7 separate regions of the Homo sapiens genome follow, and regions 1, 3, 4, 5, 6 and 7 are each linked to region 2. The links are contacts of gene promoters, found by promoter capture Hi-C in blood cells and fetal thymus (Javierre and others, 2016). All regions are on one chromosome and are shown on one strand. Each heading gives the region's core, a stretch centred on a gene start or on the middle of the fragment in contact. The rest is flanking DNA. Distances are from core to core; before and after follow the strand shown.

Region 1 (3,507 bases), core at 92-2,591, 480 kb before region 2:
GACCTCCGTTCACATTGTCCAGGCTTCCAAGTGTAGCCGTGTGTCTGTCTGTGTGTGCCATGTGGCTCCCGGCCTCCCCGTGGCATGCAGCCCGCCCCCGAATGTCATCTGTCCGCCAGCTCCCATGTGCTTTCTGGCTGCCTCTGCTCTGCACCTCAGAAAGCCCTGGGTTGGCTTTGGTTTGCTTTGCTGCCTTTGGTTTGATGTTCCCGTTCTGTTTGGCCCTCATGTGTCTCTCTCATCCCAACTCATCCAACCGTCTCTCCTTTCTGTGCCTTTTCTGTTTGTGACACGTAACATGTTCCATGTTGTATGGTTTCTTAACTGTGTGTGGTTTTCCTAAGATGAATTTTTTTAATAGCCTCTCCTCTTTCCTACTTGATTCCCACCTGGTCCTCCTCCCTGTCTGCATGGTTGAACCTCTGCTTTAAAGTGAACAAGGCTCAGTCTCTCACTAGGTGTGGGTGCCCGCAGGAGTCGACTGTGCTTCCTTTAACCACTGTTCCCCATCATCTCTTTGATGGTGCTTGGTGATTCCTCCTGTCCTAACACTAGTTTCTACCAAAACCAAAGAGATTTTTAAAAACCAGCTCAAGGATGCCTATAACCTGAGCCCCCTTTTTCACTCTCCCCCATCCTGTCAATGCTAATAACACCCAGCGACTATGGATTCCAGCCACCTGCTTTGCCCTAACCCTTCTCCCACCCGCCCCTCCTGTGAGCCCCCCGAGCCTGGCTGTGGTCCCTGGGCAGTGCTCCTGACCCCTGTGCTTCCCTTGCAGATCCGCGTCGTGAAGGCGTTCCGTAGCTCTCTCTATGAAGGTTTAGAAAAGCCTGAATCTCGAACCTCCATCCATAACTTCATGGCTCATCCTGAATTCCGGATCGAAGATTCCCAGCCCCACATCCCCCTCATTGATGACACCGACCTGGAAGAAGATGCCGCGCTCAAGCAGAACTCGAGCCCGCCGTCATCCCTCAACAAGAACAACAGCGCCATCGACAGTGGGATCAACCTGACGACCGACACAAGCAAATCAGCTACCTCTTCAAGTCCAGGGAGCCCCATCCACAGCCTGGAGACGTCGCTTTAGCTGAGGACCCTCTCGCCTGCCCGCCCGCCCTCATGGACCCCGCTGCCACCCGCTTTCCGGGCACCCATCCATCCAGGCACCCAACTCACCCAAGCAGCAACGAGCAACAATCGGAAACCAAATACTGGAGAGAAAACCAACGTTTCCACCCACAGACCCTTTCTCTGGCTGCGATGCTGTTTGAACTCTTTTTCACTTCAAGGCAAGGGGCGGGATCTCCACTGGGGGCTTACGGGAGTGAGCGGTTTTCCCAAAACAAGCCCTTCCTGGCTCCCACCCAGACATGGACCAGCCATGCACCCGCCCAGCCACCACGTCCCCCGCATGAATGTACTGTACACTTTCAATCCTCCCCTTGTTTGGTTTTTGGGGGTTGGGGAGGGGTTTTTGTTTGTTTGTTTGTTTTCTTAGGCGGGAACTGCAAACAGACTCTTTTCTGAGACTATTTATCCAATCCACTGGTCTGTGAGTTTTTGAAATGCTTGCACAGCATGGTCTCAGTTGTATAGATTAATTTAATAACTTTTTGAAATTGCAGAGCTTAACTCGCCTAGTAGATTTGCACCAATGGAACCGAAGAACTTCATAGACACTCACAAGGTTATATCCATTTCTTTGTATCTATATCAACGTATACTTTTCCGAGACTGTATACGTCCATATAGATAGGTAGATATATATATATATATATAAATATATATACATGGATATATAAAGTTTCTTTGCCGGCATGTTGCCTTGTTTCCGCTTAAATTGCTCTATTTTAACTTATTTATGTCCTAAAAGAAGAATGTAATTTGTTTACAAACCTGTAGATAACGTCTTTGGCTATTTGTATGGTTTAAGAACACTGGTGGCTGAGATGCTATAAAAACAGCTCGGCCCAACAGACACTTCCCCTGGGTTGCATCCTGGATGTTTTATGATAGCCATGCTCTGATTTTTGCCTGCTATTTCCGTTCAATAATGTCACTACCGTGAGAGGCTCAGGCAGAAGCCAAATGCTACCGAGTTGCCATCCTGAGGGGTTTAACAACATGCTCCGTAGACGAAGGGAGAGGAGGAGAGAAGGCTTCCTGGGTTTGCAACACTAACGGCCATCCGGCCCAAGGATGCCAGGATCTGCAAAGCACTGCTCGAAGACTTTTCTCTCAATGAAACTCGCTTGAGTTTACTAAGAGCATTTCAAAAATAGGTTCTCTTTGGCACTGTCTGTACAGAGATTGAGGTAGTGTTGAAATATTATAAATGGTATTGTGTTGATTTTTTTTTTTATTTAGTAACTTACAGGTTTGTTTCCTTATTAATGGCAGCATCTGAGCTGTTGGCATATTGGATGAGGATCAGTATGGCTTGCTGCTTTTATTTTTATTTTTGAAGAAGAATAGCCTTTTTCTCTGCACTATTTAGATCCGAATGAACCTTATGATGTGTATATTGAGATGTACTCAGTGTGATTTTAAACCAAATTGTCTTCCTGTAGTCACAATATATACTGTAGCCTTTTAACAGCAAGTCTTGCTTTCCCAAACAGAAAGCCATTCTGAAACCCTACAGTATCACAGGTGAGAAAAGGTGGTTATTTTTTCCCCAAGACAACAGCACTAGTAATCCCACTTAATAAGAGCTTATTTAATTGGATGTCAGCCTCTTAACTGCTAAGCACTTTGTGGGTCTCAGCGTTTTTCATAAAAGAACTTTTGTATTTAATACAAAGTTTGCTTTGAGACTTTTCAGCATATGATCTTTTTTCCATAAACTTGTACAGTGCAAAAGACATTTTGAATACCATGATCGATGATGTCCCATGCTTCGAGGAAAACCAAACACTTTCCGCCTCTCTTGCAAAATCCATTCCTCATGCTGACCCTCCTCACGATGGCTGTGTCAGCCCAGCCCCTTCCCTTCTCCAGGCCCAGAGAACTCTTCCACAAACAAGATGAGAGCCACTCGGGAAAAGAGCCATAGTCAACTGGGAGGGCCTACATCTGGATGGCGGTGGAAAAACTTGAGGGTTTGGGGTTCAAAGTCAGCCCATCCCACCTGGCAAAATCCTCCTGGAAGGAGGACCTTCAAGAGCGCATCACCTGAATGTCGTGAAGAAGTATCTCTGAATGTATCCAGGAGAGGAACTGCATAACCAAAGGGGTGACCAGCCCTCAGATGTGCTTATTGGATTCCAGTACAAACGCCACCAAAGCCAGCCCACTGCTCTCCTACAAGGAAGGAAAGATCTGCACGTGTAAAACATGGGGCAGCCTTGGAACATGGTGTTTTTTGGAGTTTCCTTTCTCACAGTTTTCCATCTCCCCACTTCTTTGATCAGTCATGTGTCCGTGACCTCGTTCCATGACATCAGGATAGCTGTGTTTGCACACCATGCTCCATGTTCATTCGGAGCCAGGAGGGGTTC
Region 2 (3,274 bases), core at 440-2,939:
TATTTTGTTATTTTTATTTTCTTATCTTGAGCCCAGGAGTTTGAGACCAGCCTGGGCAACATCGTGAGACCCCATATCTTTAAAAAAAAAAAAAAAAAAAAAAAAAGCTAGGTATGGTGGTGCACACCTGTAGTCCCAGCTATTCAGGAGACTGAAGTGGGAGGATCGTTTGAGCCTGGGAGGTTGAGGCTGCAGTGAGCTGTGATTGTGCCACTGCACTCCAGCCTGGATGACAGAGCAAGCAAAAAAACACATTAGTGGCCGGGCACAGTGGCTCACGTCTGTAATCCTAGCACTTTGGGAGGCCAAGGCGGGCGGATTGCCTGAGCTCAGGAGTTCGAGACCAGCCTGGGCGACATGGTGAAACCCCGTCACTAAAATACAAAAAATTAGCCGGGTGTGGTGGCGGGCACCGCACCTGTAATTCCAGCTACTCAGGAGGCAAAGGCAGGGGAATCGCTTGAACCCGGGAGGTGGAAGTTGCAGTGAGTCGAGATCGGGCCACTGCACTCTAGCCTGGGTGACAGAGCGAGACTCTGTCTCCAAAAAACAAAAACCAAAACACATTAGGAAAATGTTCACACCAAACTCAAAGTGGAGACTGGGGAGGGAGTGAAAACTGGAAGCACGCAGTAAAGGGGAATTTACTTTTATCCCTTTCATTTCTTAAACAAGAAAAACAGGAAACCTATACATATATATATTGTTTCACAATGACTAATTCTGATGGTAGGAATGTGGGCAGTCATTATATTATTCTTTTTTTTCTGTGTTCTTCTACTTTCTTTTTCTTTTTTCTTTTTTTTTTTTTTTTGAGACGGAGTCTCGCTCGTCGCCCAGGCTGGAGTGCAGTGGCACGATCTCGGCTCACTGCAAACTCCGCCTCCCGGGTTCACGCCATTCTCCTGCCTCAGCCTCCCGAGTAGCTGGGACTACAGGCGCCCGCCACCACGCCCGGCTAATTTTTTTGTATTTTTGGTGGAGACGTGGTTTCACCGTGTTAGCCAGGATGGTCTCGATCTCCTGACTTCGAGGGGCCACAGGACTAGTAGAGCCAAGAGTTGAGGGTCCGGGTGGGGTGATCCGGCCGTCAGAAATGCAAAAGCCTGGAAAGACATCTCCAAAGGCCAATCTCAGGTTGGACAATCGTGAGCTGGGGAAGCTGCAAACACTGTGACCTCCGGAATAACCGCTGGTAATCAGTTACCTCTAACCCTTAGCAGAATTCAGGTCCCTCTACTACTCCTAACCTGGTGGCCTTTCATTAACTCTATGAAGCCAGTTTAGTTCGGGGGAAGGGCAATTATCATTTAGACTACGAACTAATTTCTCCCAAAGTTAGCTTGGCCCAAGCCCAGGAATGACCAAGGACCGTTTAGAGGTTAAAGGCAAGCTGCGGGTTGGTTAGATCAGATCTCTTTCGCTGTCATAATTTTGTAATATAATTTTTGCAAAGGCGGCTTCAGGTTTTTTGCTAAGACAGGTTTTTTGATCAGATCAAATTCTTCTGCTACAGCGCTCTCCCTAAAAGCATAGGAAGGCATTTCTGCATTTCCTTCCTGGGCGGAGGAAAAGCCCCGCCTCCTCAGGCTCTGAGTCCCGCCCGGTCACCATTCCGATTGACACTCCAGCTGACCAATCAGCGCGCTGGCTGGAGCGCGGGTCTGCCCCTCTGGACGCACATGCGCGCTGTCCTGGCTCGGGAGATGGACGGCCGCCGTGTTTTGGGCCGGTTCTGGAGTGGCTGGCGGCGGGGCCTGGGTGTCCGCCCAGTGCCCGAGGACGCAGGCTTTGGCACCGAAGCCCGGTGATTAAGTACCCCCTCTCTCATGCGGGACGGAGGCTAGGGCAGGGGGAAGGCACGTGCGGGATCTGGATCAGGTAGATGTTACCCGAAAACAGCCCCGTTGGCCTCTCTGAGCCTCGGTGCCCTCCGCTGTAGAATGGGACCGGTCGTACCTGAATTTTCGAGGTCAGCCCAGACATTGTGAGGCATTTGTCAGAGGCCGCAGGATTTGGGAAGAGGCGTCCGGAGATAGGAATGGGTGGCACCTCGGGATGGAATGACTCCCATTGCTTCTCCCTCCTTGTCCAGGCATCAGAGGCAACCCCGCGGCTCCTGCCAACGGTCGGGGCCCCTCGGGGACCAGCCCTTCGCGGGGCTGCTGCCAAAAAACCTCAGTCGGGAGGAGCTGGTTGATGCGCTGCGGGCAGCCGTGGTGGACCGGAAAGGTGAGGGGTGAGAGGCACGGCCGCACAAGGACCGGGAGGGGACTGCCTCGGCGTGCAGTTGGGCTCTCCATTGAAGCCACGGGATCAGCCCTGCTTCTGCCTCCCACTAGCAGCATGAGCTGGGACAAGCCACCTAATTTGCACCCTCTCCCCGCTTTTAACCCTACTGCCATGATGCAGTAGGGTTAAGAGTGGGGAGAAGATGCAAATAACTACCGAGCCTTGCACATAGCCGGCGCTCAGTTACGGGAGTTGCTATACTAGATTATTGTTTATTGGCCGCGGTGGCTCACGCCTGTAATCCCGGCACTTTAGGGTGCTGACGCGGGCGGATCACCTGAGGTCAGGAGTTCGAGACTAGCCTGGCCAACATGGTGAAACCCCGTCTCTACTAAAAACACAAAAATTAGCCAGGTGTGGCGGCGTCCGCCTGTAATCCCAGCTACTCGGGAGGCTGAGGCAGGAGAGTCACTTGAACCCGGATAGCAGAGGTTGCAGTGAGCCGACATCGTGCTACTGCGCTCCAGCCTGGGATGACAGAGCAAGACTCAGTCTAAATAAATAAATAAATAAATAATGATTATTTATCGACGGACAAAACACAGGCTTTGGAGTCAGACATACCTAGGCTCTGTGATCAGCTTGCTGTGCGGCTTTAGGAAAATAACTGAATTTCTCTGAACCCCACTCTCTATTCAGTGATTTATTCCTTTTCTCAACTATTTCTTGAACATATGCTATGTTCCAGGCACTGTTCTAGGCAGGCTATACAGTGCTGAAAAAGATAGATATGGTTTCTGCTCTCAGGGGAGAAATGGATTTCTCTCTAACGGGAGAAATGGATGTCAGAAAATAAATGAACAAGTTACTAGTGGTAAGTGCTATGCATAAACTAAAACAGGGTGTTATGATGGTGAGGAACTGCAGGAGGAAGGCAGACATTAGATTGGAGATTCAGACCTCTCCGTGATGTGACATTTGAGCCAAGATGATAGGGAGCCAGACCTGGGAAATTTGGGGACAGGAAACAGCAAGTGCCGAG
Region 3 (3,428 bases), core at 321-2,820, 350 kb before region 2:
AAGCAGGAGAATCGCTTGAACCTGGGAGGCGGAGGCTGCAGTGTGCTAAGATTGTGCCACTGCACTCCAGCCTGGGCAATAGAGCAAGACTCTGTCTCAAAAAACAACAACAACAGAAAACCAGTCCCTTGTACAGAATGACAATGAACAATGTCGGGGTGAGTGCTGATTCAAGCACGGGTCTGGAACAGAGCTGTCGCTCCCAGGGTGCACAGAAGTGAAAGCTCTGCCTGTGCTCCCTTGGAAGGCTACCCCCCGCCACTCCCAGTCCTCATCTTTCCCAGCCTCCCCTCTCTGGCAGGGAGAGACTGCCTCTCTCCCTCCACCCTCCCTCCTCAAACTGCCTCAAGTGGGGCTTATGCTCCTGGAAAGGCTTGTCATCCTTGTGACATCTGTGTCAAAAGGGCAGCAGTGGCTCCCCTGGCTCAGGGCCGGCTGGGCTCGCTGAAGTCACTTCCCAACAGTGACCTCCTGCAGAGGCCAGGCCCGCAACAGTATAAAATGCTCCCTAAAGGTCTCACCTACACCCAGAACCGCCCATGATCCCAGCAAATGAGGCACCTTCTCCTTGTCGGAGGCCTGCCTGGCTGAGCCTCATTGTTCTCATCACAGTAAAACGGGGATGAGGGTGATACTTACAGCCTTACTTAACTTCAGTGTCCTGTTCCTTTTTTTTTTTTTTGAGACAGGGTGTTGCTCTGTCACCCAGGCTATGCAGTGGTGTGATCACAGCTCACTGCAGCCTCAAACTCCTGAGCTCAAGCTATCCTCCTCTCTTAGCCTCCCATGCCGCTGGGATTACAGGCAACACCACGCCCAGCTAATTTTTAATTTTGTGTAGAGACAGCATCTCACTATGTTGCCCAGCCTGGGCTCAAACTCCTAGGCCCCAGTGATCCTCCCACCTTGTCCTCCCAAAGTGCTGGGATTACAGGCCTGAGCCACTGCTCCCAGTCCAGTGTCCTATTCAGGGTAATGTTTTGTTCAGCACAAATCTTTGCCTCTCTGTCAAAACACATTTGGCAGGAACATCAAGGCCACCAACCCATTTGTGGCCGACCTCTGTGGGCTCCACCCGTGGGGAAGATAAAAAATGTCATTATGTTTTCATCCTAAAGAGAGTCCAGCTTTTCTCTTTCTTTTTCTTGTTCCTTCTGCAGTGACATGCGGTGGCCCCACCTGGCACCACAGGGCATTTGGAAGTGAGCAGGAGTGAGGAACAGATGGGGAGGGGCGGTGTCGGCAGGGCTACCTGTGACCAGACCTGTCAGCACACTTGGGGCTAACATCCACCCTCCCACACAAGAGGCACCAGGTCACACCAGCCACGGATGTAAGCCAACAGAGCCCCATGTCAGCCCCAACAAGAAGTTCTGGTTTCCTGTGAAACCCCCATCTTCTCAAGCTTTGAGTTTTTAGATGTCTTTAAAATGCAAGCAATAAATGGTGCGTATAAACATGAACCGCCCTCATCTCCACCCTGGAGCTGCCGGCATGGTCTGAGCTGGGTGGACAGGCAGGCCCATGCATGCCTGTCCCACTGTCCAAACATGAAGATGGAGAAAATGGCCTCTGTCCTCATCCCTCCAAACCTGCTCCCTGCTAGCTAGAAAGACGCAACGCCCACTCATTCAGGCTGGCACACCAGAGAGCTAGTGAAATAAAAATAGAACACCAAAGGCAGGATGAGGCAAAGGAGGCCAAATGCCTACAAGAAAGGGCTGTGACAAGCTTTAACTCTCGCACTGAGCTTCCTATCTGCCAAGGCCAAGGCTCAGGAGTGAGCTGCTCACGGACTTCTTATCACAGATAGACAGGGGCAGCCTCAGGCTTCCAAGACAGCACTCTTTCCTCCCAGGATTAAATTCTCAAGAGAATTCCACACATAAAGTTGATTCTGCAGGATCATGAGATCCAAAAACACAGACTGTGATCAAAGAGTAGAACTAGGATCACAAGAGTAAGCGTGGGGAAGCGTCGGCTCTGGCTTGAGCCAGACCCAAGCTCTGCGATTCCAGCTTCACGCCCAGGCACAGACCTCCTAACCCTCTGAGCTTCATGCGCCTCTCCTGTGGAATCAGAATAATAACCCCACACCTCCCAGGGCCGTCCCAGGGCTCCATGATGACAAATGTGAAGTGGCTGGCCCAGGGCAGGGGCCCACAACACTGTGCAAACAGCCACCCTCCTTCAGTTCTGCCAGAAAGGTGCAGATAGAAAAGAACCTCTGATTCCCAACTCGGGCCTCCGAAGGAAGCATTTAGGGTGGAAGGCTATTTTTAACATTTTAAACACTCTAATGGAAACCGATTCTAGGTGGGCAGCAACTTGGTGCACAGTCCCGAGAGGTACAGTGGCCATGAGAGCAAAGTAACATAGGAGCCCAGCAGCAGGGGAGGTGGGGGCCTGTGCCCACGCCATTGGCAGCCAGCCTCAGTCACACACTGGAGGTGGGCAGCCCAGGGTTCTCCCTGCTGGGACCCCCAGGGATAGGAAGGGGACGCAGGTGACGGAAGGAACAGCTAATCTATAGCTTAGGTGGCCACAGGCACCAGAAGGTTGACACGGCAGTTCTCAGACAGAGTCTGGATTTTTTGTTTTTGTTTTTGAGGCAGAGTCTTGCTCTGTGACCCAGGCTAGAGTGCACTGGTGCAACCATAGCTCACTGCAGCCTCTACCTCCCAAGTTCAAGCAATCCTCCCACCTCAGCCTCCCAAGTAGCTGAGACCACAGGAGCACGCCACCACGCCAGGCTAATTTTGTTTTTGTTTTTGTTTTTGTTTTTTTTTGGTAGAGACAGGGTTTTGCCATATTGCGCAAGCTGATCTCAAACTCCTGGGCTCAAGCAATCTACCTGCCTTGGCCTCCCAAAGTTCTGGGATTACAGGTGTGAGCCACTGCACCCAGCCTGGAATCTGGATATCCGTGAAAGCTGCCTTGCTGAGGCTGAGAACCCACAGTGATGAGGGCTGAGTCCCAGATACAAGGAGGAAATGGGGGAGGGGCAGAAGCGCTTCTCTGTGCCCCTGTCATGGTTCACCAGAGCTGGTTGCCAGGCATGATTTCTTTTTCTCTCTGATTTGTTTTCGGAATGCCTGTGCTCTTCCTAATGAGCATGAATCACTGATGCCACGGAAGGCAAATGAACTCCCGCAGTCTGGAGTGTGTCCTGCAGTCAGGCTCACCAGCAGGGGGATCCTCCTAAGCCTTGGCTTCCTCATCCGACAAATGAGATGTGGAAGTGGACCCCCGACCCGAGACCAGCCATGAGGATAAAAAAATTAACACCCAGCAGATCTAAGCTACCATCATTTGCTATAGTCTCGCTCTGTTGCCCAGGCTGGAGTACAGTGGCACGATCTCTGCTCATTACAACTTCTGCCTCCTGGGTTCAAGCGATTGTCCTACCTCACCCTCCCGAGTAGCTG
Region 4 (3,129 bases), core at 134-2,633, 480 kb after region 2:
AGGTGGAGATTGCAGTGAGCTGAGATCATGCCACTGCACTCCGGCTGGGGTAACAGAACAAGACTCTGTCTCAAAAAAATAAATAAATAAATAAAATAAATAATAATAATAATAATAATATGGGGCTTTTGGAGTTTCAGATAGATACAGGTTTGAATTCTTGCCTCCACCATCATAGGTTGAATGACTTATGGCAAATTAATTCTCCCAAACCTTCAAATGTAATTAAGTAATTAGTAATACCTCTTTCCTAGAGTCGTTAGGAGACAAGTGAGAGTAGTACCTGGTTAGGCCAATAATTAAAACTTATTAATAGGCTATCTATCTTCTTCCCTCCTGTGAAATAGCATTTCATGCATTTAAAAATGATTAACTGGGCTGGGCACACTGGCTCATGCCTGTAATCCCAGCACTTTAGGGAGCTGAGGTGAGTAGATTGCTTGAGGCCAAGAGTTCGAGACCAATCTGCGTAAGATGGCAAAATCTCATCTCTACCAAAAACACAAAAAATAGCTGGGCGTGGTGGTGGGCGCCTGGAGTCCAGCTACTTGGGAGGCTGAGGTGGGAGGACTGCACTCCAGCCTGGGTGACACAGTGAGGCCCTGTCTCAAAAAAAAAAAAAAAAAAAAAGAAAAAATTAAAAATAAAAATGGTTAACTGAATACTTACTATCTAATGATTACAAATGTTCAAACGCCTACTACTTGCCAGACTCTGGGATCCATAGATGGGCATCAGGAGAGAGATCTTGGAAGTAATCCGAAATAGTAAAACAAATTTCCTATGCATAAGCTTTTGTGTGTGCTTGGGGTGGGGGCCGGGGGAAGTATTAGAGAGGTGGAGGGGCCATAGCTTACACGAGATTTTCAAAAGGTCTGTGACTCAAAATAACTTAATTGAGTACAGAATACCTATAATGTCCTTGTGCTGTGCCAGCGATACACGACAGTGTTTAACACTACGTCAGTTCCCGCCGTTAAAAAGCTGACAGTCACTGTGAATACAATCTCCATCTTCTAAAAAATGCAGCTGAGGTCAGCTAAAGGACGCGTTCCGCACAAGGTCAGAGAGCCAATGAGAGGCGCAGAATGAAAGAGAACTCACGTCTCCCAACTCCCACCTACAGGGCCCGGGAATCCTAGGGAGCGGGTAAAGGCCTGGGAGAGGGAGCAAGATGGGCTCCGCCACGAGATCCGCCTGAAGTCCGGCTCGGCGCCGGCCTCAACTGCAAGAGGAAGGCCACCCCTCTCTCCCCAAGCTGAAACACCAGAAGAGCCACACTCGGCCGTTCCCAACCGCCGCCAGTTACCGGCCGCCAGCGAAGACCCTTTCAGCTCCCACACTCCATTGGCCTCTTGCGGTCAGGTCACGCCGCCGGAAGCCGCCCCCGGAAACGGAAGTCAGGCTACGAGTCACGGTGGCTCCGCGCTGGCGGCGGGTTCCCCCACAAGGTCTTGGGGAAAGGAGCATGCGCTGGAAGCTGTGTGCTGTTGGTTTTGAGGATCTTCAGTAAGCTGAAAGCGGAGAGTCAGGGGCCTTGTGTCCTACCATGGTATTTGCTAACGTTTAGAGAGTGCTTCCCCTTGCCGAGCACTGGGTAAGCGCTTCACATGCGTCATCTCATTTGGAACAAGTCTCTTTTGTTCTAGCACCTATGAAGTGGCAGAGACTGATTTCTGTTTTAAAGCTGGAGACACCGAGTCTCTCCAGCTTATTTAAATATCTTTCTCAAAATGTCATGCCACTAGTTCCTGATTTCTGTATTGCCATCACTATTTTAGCACTGTTTACTTCATATTTTTCTTTAGTTTAAAAAAAATAGAAATAGTGGGGCTCACTATGTTGCCTAAGCTGGTCTCGAACATCTGGGTTCAAGTGATTCTTCTGTCTAGCCCTCCTAAAGTGCTGGGATTACAGGCATGAGCCACTGTGCCCAATCAGATGAACTTTATTTCTCATAAAGGGTTGAACCTGGCCGGGCACAGTGGCTCATGCCTGTAATCCCAGCACTTTGGGAGGCTGAGGCGGGTGGATCACTTGAGGTCAGGAGTTTGAGGCCAGGCTGGCCAACATGGTGAAACTCCATCTCTACTAAAAATACAAAAGTTAGCTGGATGTGGTGGCCTGCACCTGTAGTCCTAGCTACTTGGGAAGATGAAGCAGAAGAGTTGCTTACCCAGGAGGCAGAGGTTGCAGAGAGCCAAGATTGTGCCACTGCACTCCAGTCTGGGAGCAAGACATCATCTCAAAAAAAAAAAAAAAAAAAAAAAAAAAGAGTTGAACCTGCATGGTAGCCATTTTGACAGACTGGGAAGCCTAGCTTCCAGTCAGAAGCCAAAAACAGGCACTTCCAGGGTTGGAAGAATAAGACAGGGATTTATGCTAAACACAGTGGCCAAATATACATGTTAAATAAACTGTAAGAGGGGTCACGAATATTTATGAAAGGAGCAATTTGTGCATGTGCAGTTGAGCTTCATGCCTCTCTGTGGATCCCATGTTTAAAAAATGGTGGCCTTAGCATGATCCAAGGGTAGAGTTTTCTACCGCTTGACTTCAAAAGGTGAAGCAGGGGATGTGAAAACCCTCACTGCACGTCCTCTGTCGACTGGCCAGAACCACTCCCTGGATGGTGGGTGATCTCTTATCAGGAAGGAATGCTAGTCGGTTGTTCTATTGAAACTGCAAATGGGAGGGTCAGCATCAGGCTGGTGGAGTGAGTCTTTCAAAAGGGCTGGTTTCTGTTTAACCCTTAGGAAAGAAAATCTAATGGCGATTATAGAGGGAGGGGTTATAAAGAGGTGTGTCCGACTTCCCATCCTGTCATGAGTAGGAACTCAGCTTCCAAGTTTTTTCTAGGGTCTCCTTGGCCAAGAGAGGGCCTGTTCAGTCAGTTGGGGGGCATAGAATTTTATTTTTATTTTTCAGTTGACAAAAGTTAACTTATTGTGAAAGGAACCCAACAACAAAAAGATAAACCGAATTTAAAACAAAACAAAACCAAAAAGAACACAATTTATAAATGTGCAAAGGGGCTGGGAGTGGTGGTTCATGCCTGTAGTCCCAGCGCTTTGGGAGGCTGAGGTGAGTGGCTCGCTTGAGCTCAGAGTTTGAGACTAGCTCTGGCAA
Region 5 (3,476 bases), core at 316-2,815, 410 kb before region 2:
ACTGTTAAGGACCTAGCAGGCTACATCCAGTCCACAGACCAGCAGTTTTGCCACCTCTGGTTGTGAAGACCAAGACTGGAGTTGGGGGAGAAAAAAAAAAATTAGGAGTATAATAATATACCTTATATTTTCATACAGATTTACAATTTACAGAAGTGCTACAGCCGTCATACTTCTTTTACAGAAAGTGAAACTGCTACATGGCTTGTAAGTGGCAGAACCGGGATTCAAACTCAAGTTCTCCCTAACATCCTGGAAGCCAAGGGAAAGGAGTAATGAAATATGAAAGTGAGAAACACTGTTGGCTGGGCATGGTGGCTCCTGCCTATAATCTCAGAACTTTGGGAGGCTGAGGCAGGCAGATCACTCGAGCCCACAAGTTCAACACCAGCCTGGGCAACATGGCAAAAAAACCCCTCTCTACAAAAAATACAGAAAAATTAGCTGGGCATGGTGGTGCACGCCTGTAGTCCCAGCTACTTGGGAGGCTGAGGCAGGAAGATCACCTGAGCCAGGAGGTCAAGGATGCAGTGAGCCAATTGCACCACTGCACTTCAGCCTGGGTGACAGACAGGAAAGGAGGGAGGGGGAGGGGGAGGGGGAGTGGGAAGTGGGAAGGAGGAAGGGGGAAGGGGGAAAAAAAGAGAGAAAGTGAGAAACACTCTCCTAGGCTGGAGGACCTAAGATGGATCAACGACACCGAGGATGAGTTTCAGCAGGTGACAGTTGGCTCTAAAGGTAAGAAGTAGGTAGACCATGGGCAGAAGGTAAGAGACAAACCACCTGACTTCATAAAGGGGAGAGTTCGTTCTTCCTGGAAGCACTGCTTGGTGAACTGTGCATCTCCAAAGGAAAGAAGGAAAGATAAGTGGAGATGTTGCTCCAGCCCTATCACCAGTAGCCTGAAGGATTTCAACAGCTCCTCACCAGCTCCCTGTCTTCTCCCTCCTACCCTTTCTCTGCAGCGTGCCAGAGGAGCTCTAAAATGCAAACCCCACCACTTCAGCCTTAGTTTAGAACCCTTCCAGGGCTCCACATTTGCCTACAGAATAATCCCTACCCCTGAGCTCATCAGGAACCCTTCACAGACTGGCCCCAGCCTTCCTGTCTAGCCTCATCTCCTGCCTTCCTCCAAACACGCAAGTGTCCAGGGAACGCAGGAGAGCACGGATGAGAGAAGGGAGGGCCAGCAGTGCCCCAAGCACTCCAGACAAGCAGCATTTCCTGACATTTTGGGCATGTATTGCTCCCTATGCCCGAAATGTCCTGTCCCCCTCCTTGTCCATCAGTAAGACTCAGATGTCACCTCTTCTGTGAGGACCTTCCTGATGGTCAGTCGCTCATTCCCCTGACCCTTGGGTACTCCAAACCCATCCCTGTTACAGCTCTCCACTCACTGCCCCGTGGTGAGTGACTTCTCAGTCTGTGAAGCATGGCCCGATTGTCCTTGGCAACAACAGCCCCAAGCCTGGTGTTCCACGTGTGCACTAGACATGTGCCAAGTGGAGATGCAGGAAAGGGGATGTGCAAAAGCTCTATCACTCAAGAGCCTCAATACCCAGTGCTTTACTGTGCCTGGGCTAACTCACCCTGCAGAGAGCTCCGCAAGGGAGGGACCCTGGCACCTTCGTCTTGCCACCCCTACATCTGATGCCAGGCTAGAACAGAGCAGGTGCTCCCAGAGGCAGCAGTGCAGAGAACACTGGCTTTGAAGTTGGACTAATCTGATATTACCCCACAGCTCGGCCATTTACCAGCTGCATGGCCTTGGTCAGCTTATTTAACCTTTCTGAATCTCATCTGCCCAGTGCCTACACAGAGTAGGTGCTTAAATATTTGTTAATTGATATGAAGGTATTTACTAATGGATATGTGGAGATAATACCACCTACTTCACGACACTTTTGGGATTATGTGATAGTCTATAGATCAAACATCGAGAATCATAGTTGACCAAGCCTTATCATACATGCTCAAATTTTCCCTTCCATTCTTTCAACTCTAAATTGAATGTAGACATTTAGATGTCATAGTAAAAATAATCTTTACTACATGAAGGTGCTCGTCACACAGTTAGTCTCCTCTGTGAAGAGTAAATGAAGATCATCAGCTAACATGAAACATCTCCAACTGTCCTGGAGGTAAGAAGGGAACGATGTGAGGTCAGCCAGCAGGGATCTCTACCGATTCTAAAATGACCAGTCTAACACCTTCCCCTCAGAATATTCTGTGACCTGGCACAGAGAAAGATGTGTTAAAGGCTGGTGGGAGAAGGGAACAAAGTCAACTGTGTAACCCTCAAAGTTTACAGAGCAAGGCCAGGCACAGTAGCTCATGCCTGTGATCCCAGCACTTTGGGAGGCCAAGGTGGGAGGACTGCCTGACCCCAGGAGATTGAGACCAGCCTGGTCAACATAGGGAGACTCTTGTCTTTACAAAACACAAAAAATTAGCCAGGCAGGCCAGGCGCGGTGGTTCACGCCTGTAATCCCAGCACTTTGGGAGGCCTATGCAGGCGGATCACGAGGTCAAGAGATCGAGACCATCCTGGCTAACATGGTGAAACCCCATCTCTACTAAAAATACAAAAAAATTAGCCGGACATGGTGGCGTGCACCTGTAGTCCCAGCTGCTGGGGAGGCTGAGGAAGGAGAATGGCGTGAACCCGGGAGGCGGAGCTTGCAGTGAGCCGAGATTGCACCACTGCACTCCAGCCTGGGTGACAGAGCAAGATTCTGTCTCAAAAAAAAAAAAAAAAAAATTAGCCAGGCAGGTTGGCACACGCCTGAGTTCCACCTACTTGGGAGGCTGAGGCAGGAGGATCGCTTGAGCCCAGGAGGTTGAGATGCAGTGAGCTATGATCATGCCAGTGCACTCCAGCCTGGGTGACAGAGCAAGACCCTGTCTCAAACAAAAAAAAAAAGTTTACAGAGCAGACACAGGAGAGCAGTGAGAGGACTCTAGAAGGACCTGAGGATGAACATGCCATTTTTGTGAGTACCCCTCGGCTGTGCTTGCTGAAGGACTTAGGACCAGGACAGATAAGTTCACAGATGACCACAGAGCAAGGGAGGAAGAGGTACAGATGAAGGTGGAAGGTAAGAGGTGTTTTGTAATTCATCAAGATGAGTCAAGTACTGTACACTTGGTTTTTAAACTGACAAACATATACTCCAGGAAGAGACTTCAGCAGTCCTAGAGATGGACAATCAGGGTAATATAAAAACCCTCACTCGACAAGAGTGATCTTTCTACAATGCAATTTCCTTTTCTGTGTAGAGCCCTGTATAAATTCTCTAATTGCTTAGAAGACAATCCAGCTGGCACAGTGGCTCATGCCTCTAATCCCAGCGCTTTGGGAGGACAAGGCAAGAGGACAGCTTGAGCCCAGGAGTTTGAGACCAGCCTGGGCAACACAGTGAGATCTTCATCTCTACAAAAAAAAAAATTTTTTTTTTTTTTTTTTTTTGAGACTG
Region 6 (3,417 bases), core at 560-3,059, 450 kb after region 2:
TATTCATAGAGGAAACTGATGCCTCATGGTCTCTGAGTACATCTATCCCACCATTCAGTTCTTCTTTGGGTTTCCTGTACTAATCATTGCAGTTATCCTTTTCCTGCACCTTACTTCCTTGGGCTTTTTGTTTAAATTAACCAGCTACCTATCTCCTTTTCAAGTAGTTACATACTATTTCTTACCCTTATAAGACAAATTTATTAAGTATATTACACGCTTGTACTTGGATGAGAAAGCTGGTGAAACTTTTGTCAGGGCTAGTGTGTGTGTGAGATTTGCAAAATGTAAACTTAGGTTACTTCCATATATTTTTTGTGAGTGGAGGTTTGGCATAATTACATAATTCTCTTTTACAACACTCTGGTTTGACTGTTAGGTTAATTGTAGAGCACCTTGTTAGGTCACAAATCCAGAAGTCTGGTACTGGACTTTGCAGGTTGCTTTCTTAGTGGCATATTAGTTTATATTAGAGCACATACTTCTCAAGAAGCCTTTTTTTTCTTATCTGTGACTCTCTCTTCTTGAGATGGGATAATGTATTGGATTATTAGAGAAGTGTGAGTATTGAATCAGATAGTTTTATTTTATCTAGAGCAGGGTTAAACCTGATGAATTGTTTCTGCTCTCTCATGGAGTATATCTTCTTGGTGACAAAGACTTTTCTGTCTCTGATTTTTATCTTAGTCGTGGTTACATTTAATAATCCTGCTTTCCAGCTTTTCCTAGAGATCAGTCATCAGTGACCTTTTGTCTTGATACTTTGTCACCTTTTGTTTTCTGGTTTTGGGTTTTTTTTTTCTTTTTTAAACATATGTAACATTGGCTTTTCCTGCTGACAACAGTAACAGAGTTTCAGATCATGTTTATAGAATGGTTATTTCATCACCTAACTAATCTCACCTCTAGTGTATGGATTCTGGTAAAGTCAGTCAACAGTCTTCACAGCCTTTTCTATTTTTACTGACCTTGATTTAAAATCTAATCTTAGACCTTGAGGTATTGCTTACGAATAGTGTAATAATGAGGTACTACTTATAACAAATAATGGTAACATACTCTAGTGCGTACTATAGGCAAAAGCTAATGGAAACATAGGTAGAAGAAATGAAGTAATAGTTATTGAATGCTTTTTGTGTACTGCAGGTGTGGAAACAGGAAGAGAACTAGAACTGGAAGTAAAGCATTGAAGATGTGACTGAATTGCTGCAATCTCATGATCAAATTTGAATGGATGAGGAGTTGCTTTTTAGGGATGAGCAAAGAAAGTGGTTTCTCGAGATGGAATCTACTGGTGAAGTTGCTGTGAACATTGTTAAAATGCCAATAAAGGATTTAGGAATTACAGAAACCTGGTTGATAAAGCAGTGCCAGGGTGTGAGAGAGTTGACTTCAATTTTGAAATAAGTTCCACTGGCTGGGTGTGGTGGCTCACACCTGCAATCCCAGTACTTTAGGAGGCCGAGACTGGTAGATCATTTGAGGTCAGGAGTTCAAGACCAGCCTTGCCAACATGGTGAAACCCCACCTCTACCAAATTAGCCAGGTGTGGTGCACACCTGTAGTCCCAGCTACTTGGGAAGCTGAGGCAGGAGAATCTCTTGAACCAGGGAGGAGGAGGTTGCAGTAAGCCGAGATGGCGCCCCTGCACTCCAGCCTGGGTGACAGAGTGAGACCTTGCGTTTAAAAAAAAAAAAAAAGGAAAAGGAAAAAAAAGTTCTACTGTGGGTAAAATGCTATCATGCTATCAAACAGCATCACATGCTACAGAGAAGTCTTGTGAAAGGATGTCAGTGTGGCAAACTTCATTGTCTTTTAAGAAATTGCCACAGCTATCGTAATCTTCAACCACCACCACCCTGATGAGTCAGTAGCCATCGTTAACGTTGGCGTAAGACCCTCCACCAGCAAAAAGATTGTTAGCATTTTTTTAGCAGTGATGTATTTATCAATTATACATAATGCTATTGTACACTTCTTAATAGACTATGGTATAGTGTAACCATAATTTATGCACTGGGAAACCAACAAATTCATGAGATTCGCTTTATTGTAGTGCTCTGGAATTGAGCCTGCCGTGTTTCTGAGGTATACCTGTGTATTTAGTATGTTCCTTGTATATAAAACCCCATTTTATAGGGTAGGAAACTAAGGCTTAGAGTTTGAGCAATTTTCCCATAGATAACACCAATAAATTGAGGGCTGCAGAGACCACTTAAGTGGTTCTCTTAACAGTAGTCTAGACATGACGTAATGAGATTTGGCTTAGGAGTGACAATGGTAAGGAAGTTAAAGGATTCAGGAACCAAATACCAGTTATTGAGAAGAAAGAATGGCCTCAAAACATCACTTCTCAAGGAAGCCTTGATACCCTCACCCTTACTACACTGTATCCTCCATTTGAATGTTGTCAAGAGCTCTTCTCACAATTGTAAATAATAATTGTGTAATTTTGTTTTTTTTTTCCTACTTTAGGTTGCTCCTTGAGGGCAGGACAGTTCTTATGGCTTTATCCGTTGCGTAAGCACAGAGAGGTCTGCGAGGTCAAAACTATTGTCATGATAGCAAGATGCCTGTCTTTTTCATTTATTCTCACGGTGTGCAGAGGCTACATGATGTGTGATGACATCCTCATTGATGTTAATGAATGGTGCTATACTTGAATTTTCTAAGGTGTCATTAGGTAGGTTTAGGTATGCATACTTGTTTTTAGAAATTATTTTTTTCCTTTTTCCCATTTTTAGAAATCAACTCATTTTTTAGGTTATGCCTTCAGTAATCTTTGCAACCTCAATATTGTGTAATGGTTACTTTAAAATACTGTAGTTTTCTTTGTGCCTAAGTATAAACATAAGTACATTTTGTTGTTTTGTTTGCAATAGTGGTTTAAATATTTTCCCAAAATATCCAAATTTAAAAATTCTACAACTTTAGAATTTAATAAATTTATTCTAAAATATTTATATATTTTTTCATTTAAGAATGGATCGGCTTAAAAAGACTGCTTCTCATTTACTTACTGGCTATACCATCTGTATACTAATAAAAAACAAGATTTGATTTGGAAGGACTGACTCAAACTAACGAAAATATGAAACCTGTCTTTCTGCTTTGGAGATATTTACCTAATCATGTTCTGCAGTAGAATAATTTAGTTCTTTTGTCTTTTTTTGGAGATGAGGTCTTGCTGTGTTGCCCAGGCTATTCACAGCTGCCATCATAGTGAACTACAGCCTGAAACTCCTGGGTTCAAGAGATCCTTCTGCCTCAGCCTCCTGAGTAGCTGGAACTATAGGCATGCGCCACCAAGCCTGGGCTTTTAAAAAAATTTTAAAAAGAATTTTGAGACAGGATCTTGCCATGTTGCTCAGGCTAGTCTTCAACTCCTAGCCCTGAGTGATCTTGCTTTGGGCCTCT
Region 7 (3,434 bases), core at 302-2,801, 370 kb before region 2:
TACAGAAGTAAGCACTGAGGAAATAAAACAGCTGAAGTGAGGTCCCACAGCTGGTCAGTGGCCGAGCTCAGCACTCTTGGTCTAATTCACAGCATAGATACTGGGGTTCCAGACTCCTGGGAAGTAGGATACAGGTTCATATAACCAAACCAGGGGTGTCCAATTTTTGACTTCCCTGGACCACACTGGAAGAAGAATTGTCTTGGGCCACACATAAAATACACTAATACTAATGATAGCTGATGAGCTTTAAAAAAAAAATTGCAAAAAAAACTCATAATGTTTTAAGAAACTTTACAAATTTGTGTTGGGCCACATTCAAAGCCATCCTGGGCTGCACACAACCATGGGCAAGTAAGACAAGCTTGCTTTAAACAGAATTCCAGAGACTGCATGTGTATATAAGCCTATAAAAAGAAGTTCTGTTTCCGTTTTTAATAACTTCTCTCTTTAAAACACATGTACGTAATTTTTTTTTTTTTTTTGAGACAGAGTCTCGTACTGTCACCCAGGCTGGAGTGCAGTGGTGTGATCTCGGCTCACTGCAAGCTCCGCCTCCCAGGTTCACGCCATTCTCCTTCCTCAGTCTCCCGAGCAGCTGGGACTACAGGCACCCACCACCCTGTCCGGCTAATTTTTTGTAATTTTTTTAGTAGAGATGAGGCCTCACCGTGTTAGCCAGGATGGTCTCCATCTCCTGACCTCGTGATCCGCCCGACTTGGCCTCCCAAAGTGCTGGGATTACAGGCACGAGCCACCGCGCCCGGCCTAAATTTCAATTTTTTTAAGTTACATATGCTCTTAACAGTTTTTGAAAATTAGTATCCATAACCCCATTATCCATTTAACTGCTATTAAAGTTAGTGTATTTCCGGCCAATTAGATATACTAGGATTTATTTAACAAAACTGGTATCATGCCACACACATAGTTTTGATTTCTTTTTGAGACAGGGTCTCACTTTGACACCAAGGCTGGAGTGCAATGGCATGATGTCAGCTCACCGCAGCCTCAACCTCCCAGGCTCAAGGGATCCTTTCATCTCAGCGCCCCCAAGTAGCTGGGACTACAGGTGTGTGCCACCACGCCTGGCTTATTTTTTAAACTTTTTTTTTTGGCGAGGCCAGGCACAGTGATTCACTGCTTGTAATCTCACCATATGTGGGAGGCCAAGGCAGGCGGATCCTCTGAGGCCAGGAGTTCAAGACCAGCCTGGGCAATATGGTGAAACCGTGTCTCTACTAAAAATACAAAAATTAGCCAGGCGTGGTGGCACACACCTATAATCCCGGATACTCAGGAGGCTGAGGCAGGAGAATCGCTTAAACTGGGGAACCAGAGGTTTCAGTGAGTCGAGACAGCCTGGGCAACAGAGGGAGACTTTGTCTCAAAAAAACTTTTTGGCCAGGCACGGTGGCTCATGCCTGTAATCCCAGCACTTTGGGATGCTGAGGTGGGCGGATCACATGAGGCCAGGAGTTCAAGACCAGCCTGGCCAACATGGCGAAACCCTGTCTCCACTAAAAATACAAAAAAAAATTAGCCAAACATGCTGGCATGTGCATGTAATCCCAGCTACTCAGGAGGCTGAGGCAGGAGAATAGCTTGAACCTGGGAGGCAGAGGTTACAGTGACCAAGATCGTGCCACTGCACTCCAGCCTGGGCAATGGAGCGAGACTCCTCAAAAAAAACACAAAAACAAAAAAAACTTTTTTGTAGACACAGGATCTCACACTGTTGCCCAGGTTGGTCTCAAAGTACTGGGCTCAAGTGAACCTCCCATACCAACCTCCCAAAGTGTTGGGTTTATCCTTCATGGAAGGTTGATCTATTTATTAATTTAGAGATGGGGCCTCCCTGTGTTGCCTAGGCTGGTCTCCAACTCCTGGGCTCAAGCGATCCTCCCACCTCAGCCTCCCAAATAGCCAGGACTACAGGCATGTGACACCACACCTGGGACATGGAAGAGCTTCATTAACCACACTCATGCAAAGCTGGCTTCTCCCCCAGGCACTGGATGCAAAGGGTCTAGGCTCACAACACTTTTAGGGGCCATCAGAACATTTTAATTTATTTTAAAATCAGAAGAAAATAAATGGACTTTTAGAGTCAAAGAAATGTCCTCATTTTTAATCCTGCTTGGATTTTATTTATCTTCGTACCAATATGGTCATACATTTTTGGAGACAGGGTCTCACTCTGTCACCCAGGGTGGAATGTGGTGGTAGGATCACAGCTCACTGCAACTTCTGCCTCCTGGGCTGAAGCCATCCTCCCGCCTCAGCCTCCCAAGTAGCTGAGACCACAGGTCGAAAATAAAATAAAATAATAAAAGAAAATAATGGCCGGGTGCAGTGGCTCATGCCTGTAATCCAAGCACTTTGGGAGGCGGAGGCAGGTGGATCACCTGACGTCAGGAGTTCGAGACCAAGCTGGCCAACATGGTGAGACCCCGTCTCTACTAAAAATACAAAAAATTAGCCGAGCATGGTGACATGCACCTGTAATCCCAGCTACTTGGGAGGCTGAGGCAGGAGAATCACTTGAACCCGGGAAGCGGAGGTTGCAGTGACCCGAGATCGTGCCACTGCACTCCAGCCTGGGTGGCAGAGCGAGACTCTGTCTCAAAAATAATAATAATAACAAATTAAAAAACAAGAAGTATATTCACTGAAGTGCCCTCCCTCCCTCTCCCCGCTATTATTGACCTCCTCTACTTACAGTCTTAGAAGCTTGGGGTAATTTGATGGCAATTTCCTTTCTCCTCTCCACCCTTAAACTGGTCTCAAGGGGTAGAGAAATTGCATTTTTGAGAGGGAACTACACGCTGGGAGACATGGCTTGGGGGCTGCAGCCGAGGGGTGGATTTACCTTTGAATCAGACGAAGTGGGGAGGTCGCTTCTCAAGGAATGAGGGGCATCTTCTTCAGGAGGCTGGAGAAAGGCCGGCTGGTGGGCTCTGGCTGGAGAGGACCCTGGAAAGGAGGGACTATGGGTCAGGATGCAGCCTCGGGGAGGAAGACAGGAGGGATCCTGGTCTAGTCCTCAGACTATGCCAGTCTCCTGTTCACTCCCCAAACACTTGTTGCTGCCAATTCCTGACACCCACCATGTGCCAACCAACACACTCCTCAAGCATCACCTCAGGATAAGCCTCTGACTCCCCTACAACCTGGGGCCTGTTTATCATCCCAGTTGGCAAGTGGAGACACGGAGACACCGGAGGTAGACGCAGTGCTCAGGACCACCCAGCCAGTAGATGGTAGAGCCGAAATTCAGACGGAAATCTGTTTGACTTCTAGGCCCTGCACTATCTCACCTCCTACTCAAAGAGCAGAAAAAGACACAGAGGTGAACTAGCTACCAAGCCTGCCTTCCAGAAACCTCCACCAGGGCAGGGATGCAGTAACTATCCTCCGAGGATACATCCCAC

What was found. Contacts are between HindIII fragments. The CHiCAGO score rates a contact against its expected background, and 5 or more counts as called.
Region 1: a contact is called between a fragment that was not itself captured here and the fragment with the promoter of RPUSD3 in region 2, in 5 of 17 cell types (naive CD8 T cells, naive CD4 T cells, activated CD4 T cells and 2 more). The highest score is 6.7, in naive CD8 T cells.
Region 3: a contact is called between a fragment that was not itself captured here and the fragment with the promoter of RPUSD3 in region 2, in 1 of 17 cell types (total CD8 T cells). The highest score is 5.5, in total CD8 T cells.
Region 4: a contact is called between the fragment with the promoter of THUMPD3 here and the fragment with the promoter of RPUSD3 in region 2, in 1 of 17 cell types (fetal thymus). The highest score is 5.4, in fetal thymus.
Region 5: a contact is called between a fragment that was not itself captured here and the fragment with the promoter of RPUSD3 in region 2, in 8 of 17 cell types (total CD8 T cells, fetal thymus, activated CD4 T cells and 5 more). The highest score is 13.4, in total CD8 T cells.
Region 6: a fragment that was not itself captured here is called in contact with the fragment with the promoter of RPUSD3 in region 2 in 1 of 17 cell types (neutrophils); the score reaches 5.5 in neutrophils.
Region 7: a contact is called between a fragment that was not itself captured here and the fragment with the promoter of RPUSD3 in region 2, in 1 of 17 cell types (M2 macrophages). The highest score is 5.4, in M2 macrophages.

The regions. Positions count from the first base shown.
Region 1 is chr3:10,326,401-10,329,907 of GRCh38, reverse strand. It overlaps ATP2B2 (ATPase plasma membrane Ca2+ transporting 2), which reads left to right. Exons shown (of 23, transcript NM_001001331.4): 23 at 783-3,507. The coding sequence ends at 1,094. Among named protein-coding and RNA genes, the nearest start is that of MIR378B, 2.1 kb to the left of the region's middle. RefSeq lists an enhancer at 1,076-1,624. The HindIII fragment of the contact is 4,701 bases long and covers 1-3,507 here.
Region 2 is chr3:9,842,423-9,845,696 of GRCh38, reverse strand. It overlaps RPUSD3 (RNA pseudouridine synthase D3), which reads left to right and starts at 1,689. Exons shown (of 9, transcript NM_173659.5): 1 at 1,689-1,807; 2 at 2,096-2,232. The coding sequence starts at 1,707. RefSeq lists an enhancer at 1,747-1,826. The HindIII fragment of the contact is 7,859 bases long and covers 1-3,274 here.
Region 3 is chr3:10,192,803-10,196,230 of GRCh38, reverse strand. All of the region lies in intron 2 of IRAK2 (interleukin 1 receptor associated kinase 2), which reads right to left. Among named protein-coding and RNA genes, the nearest start is that of IRAK2, 30 kb to the right of the region's middle. The HindIII fragment of the contact is 326 bases long and covers 1,408-1,733 here.
Region 4 is chr3:9,361,308-9,364,436 of GRCh38, reverse strand. THUMPD3 (THUMP domain 3 tRNA guanosine methyltransferase) reads right to left here and starts at 1,383. Exons shown (of 10, transcript NM_001114092.2): 1 at 1,310-1,383. It also overlaps a transcript of SRGAP3 not described here. RefSeq lists enhancers at 934-993, 1,014-1,093, 1,164-1,223, 1,444-1,653. The HindIII fragment of the contact is 4,632 bases long and covers 795-3,129 here.
Region 5 is chr3:10,252,141-10,255,616 of GRCh38, reverse strand. The region is part of intron 2 of TATDN2 (TatD DNase domain containing 2); the gene reads right to left. Among named protein-coding and RNA genes, the nearest start is that of TATDN2, 5.4 kb to the right of the region's middle. The HindIII fragment of the contact is 8,400 bases long and covers 1-3,476 here.
Region 6 is chr3:9,389,556-9,392,972 of GRCh38, reverse strand. It overlaps THUMPD3-AS1 (THUMPD3 antisense RNA 1), which reads left to right. Exons shown (of 4, transcript NR_132781.1): 2 at 2,476-2,683. Among named protein-coding and RNA genes, the nearest start is that of THUMPD3-AS1, 5.4 kb to the left of the region's middle. The HindIII fragment of the contact is 4,963 bases long and covers 1-3,417 here.
Region 7 is chr3:10,209,131-10,212,564 of GRCh38, reverse strand. IRAK2 (interleukin 1 receptor associated kinase 2) reads right to left here. Exons shown (of 13, transcript NM_001570.4): 4 at 2,873-2,976. Among named protein-coding and RNA genes, the nearest start is that of TATDN2, 38 kb to the left of the region's middle. The HindIII fragment of the contact is 2,369 bases long and covers 367-2,735 here.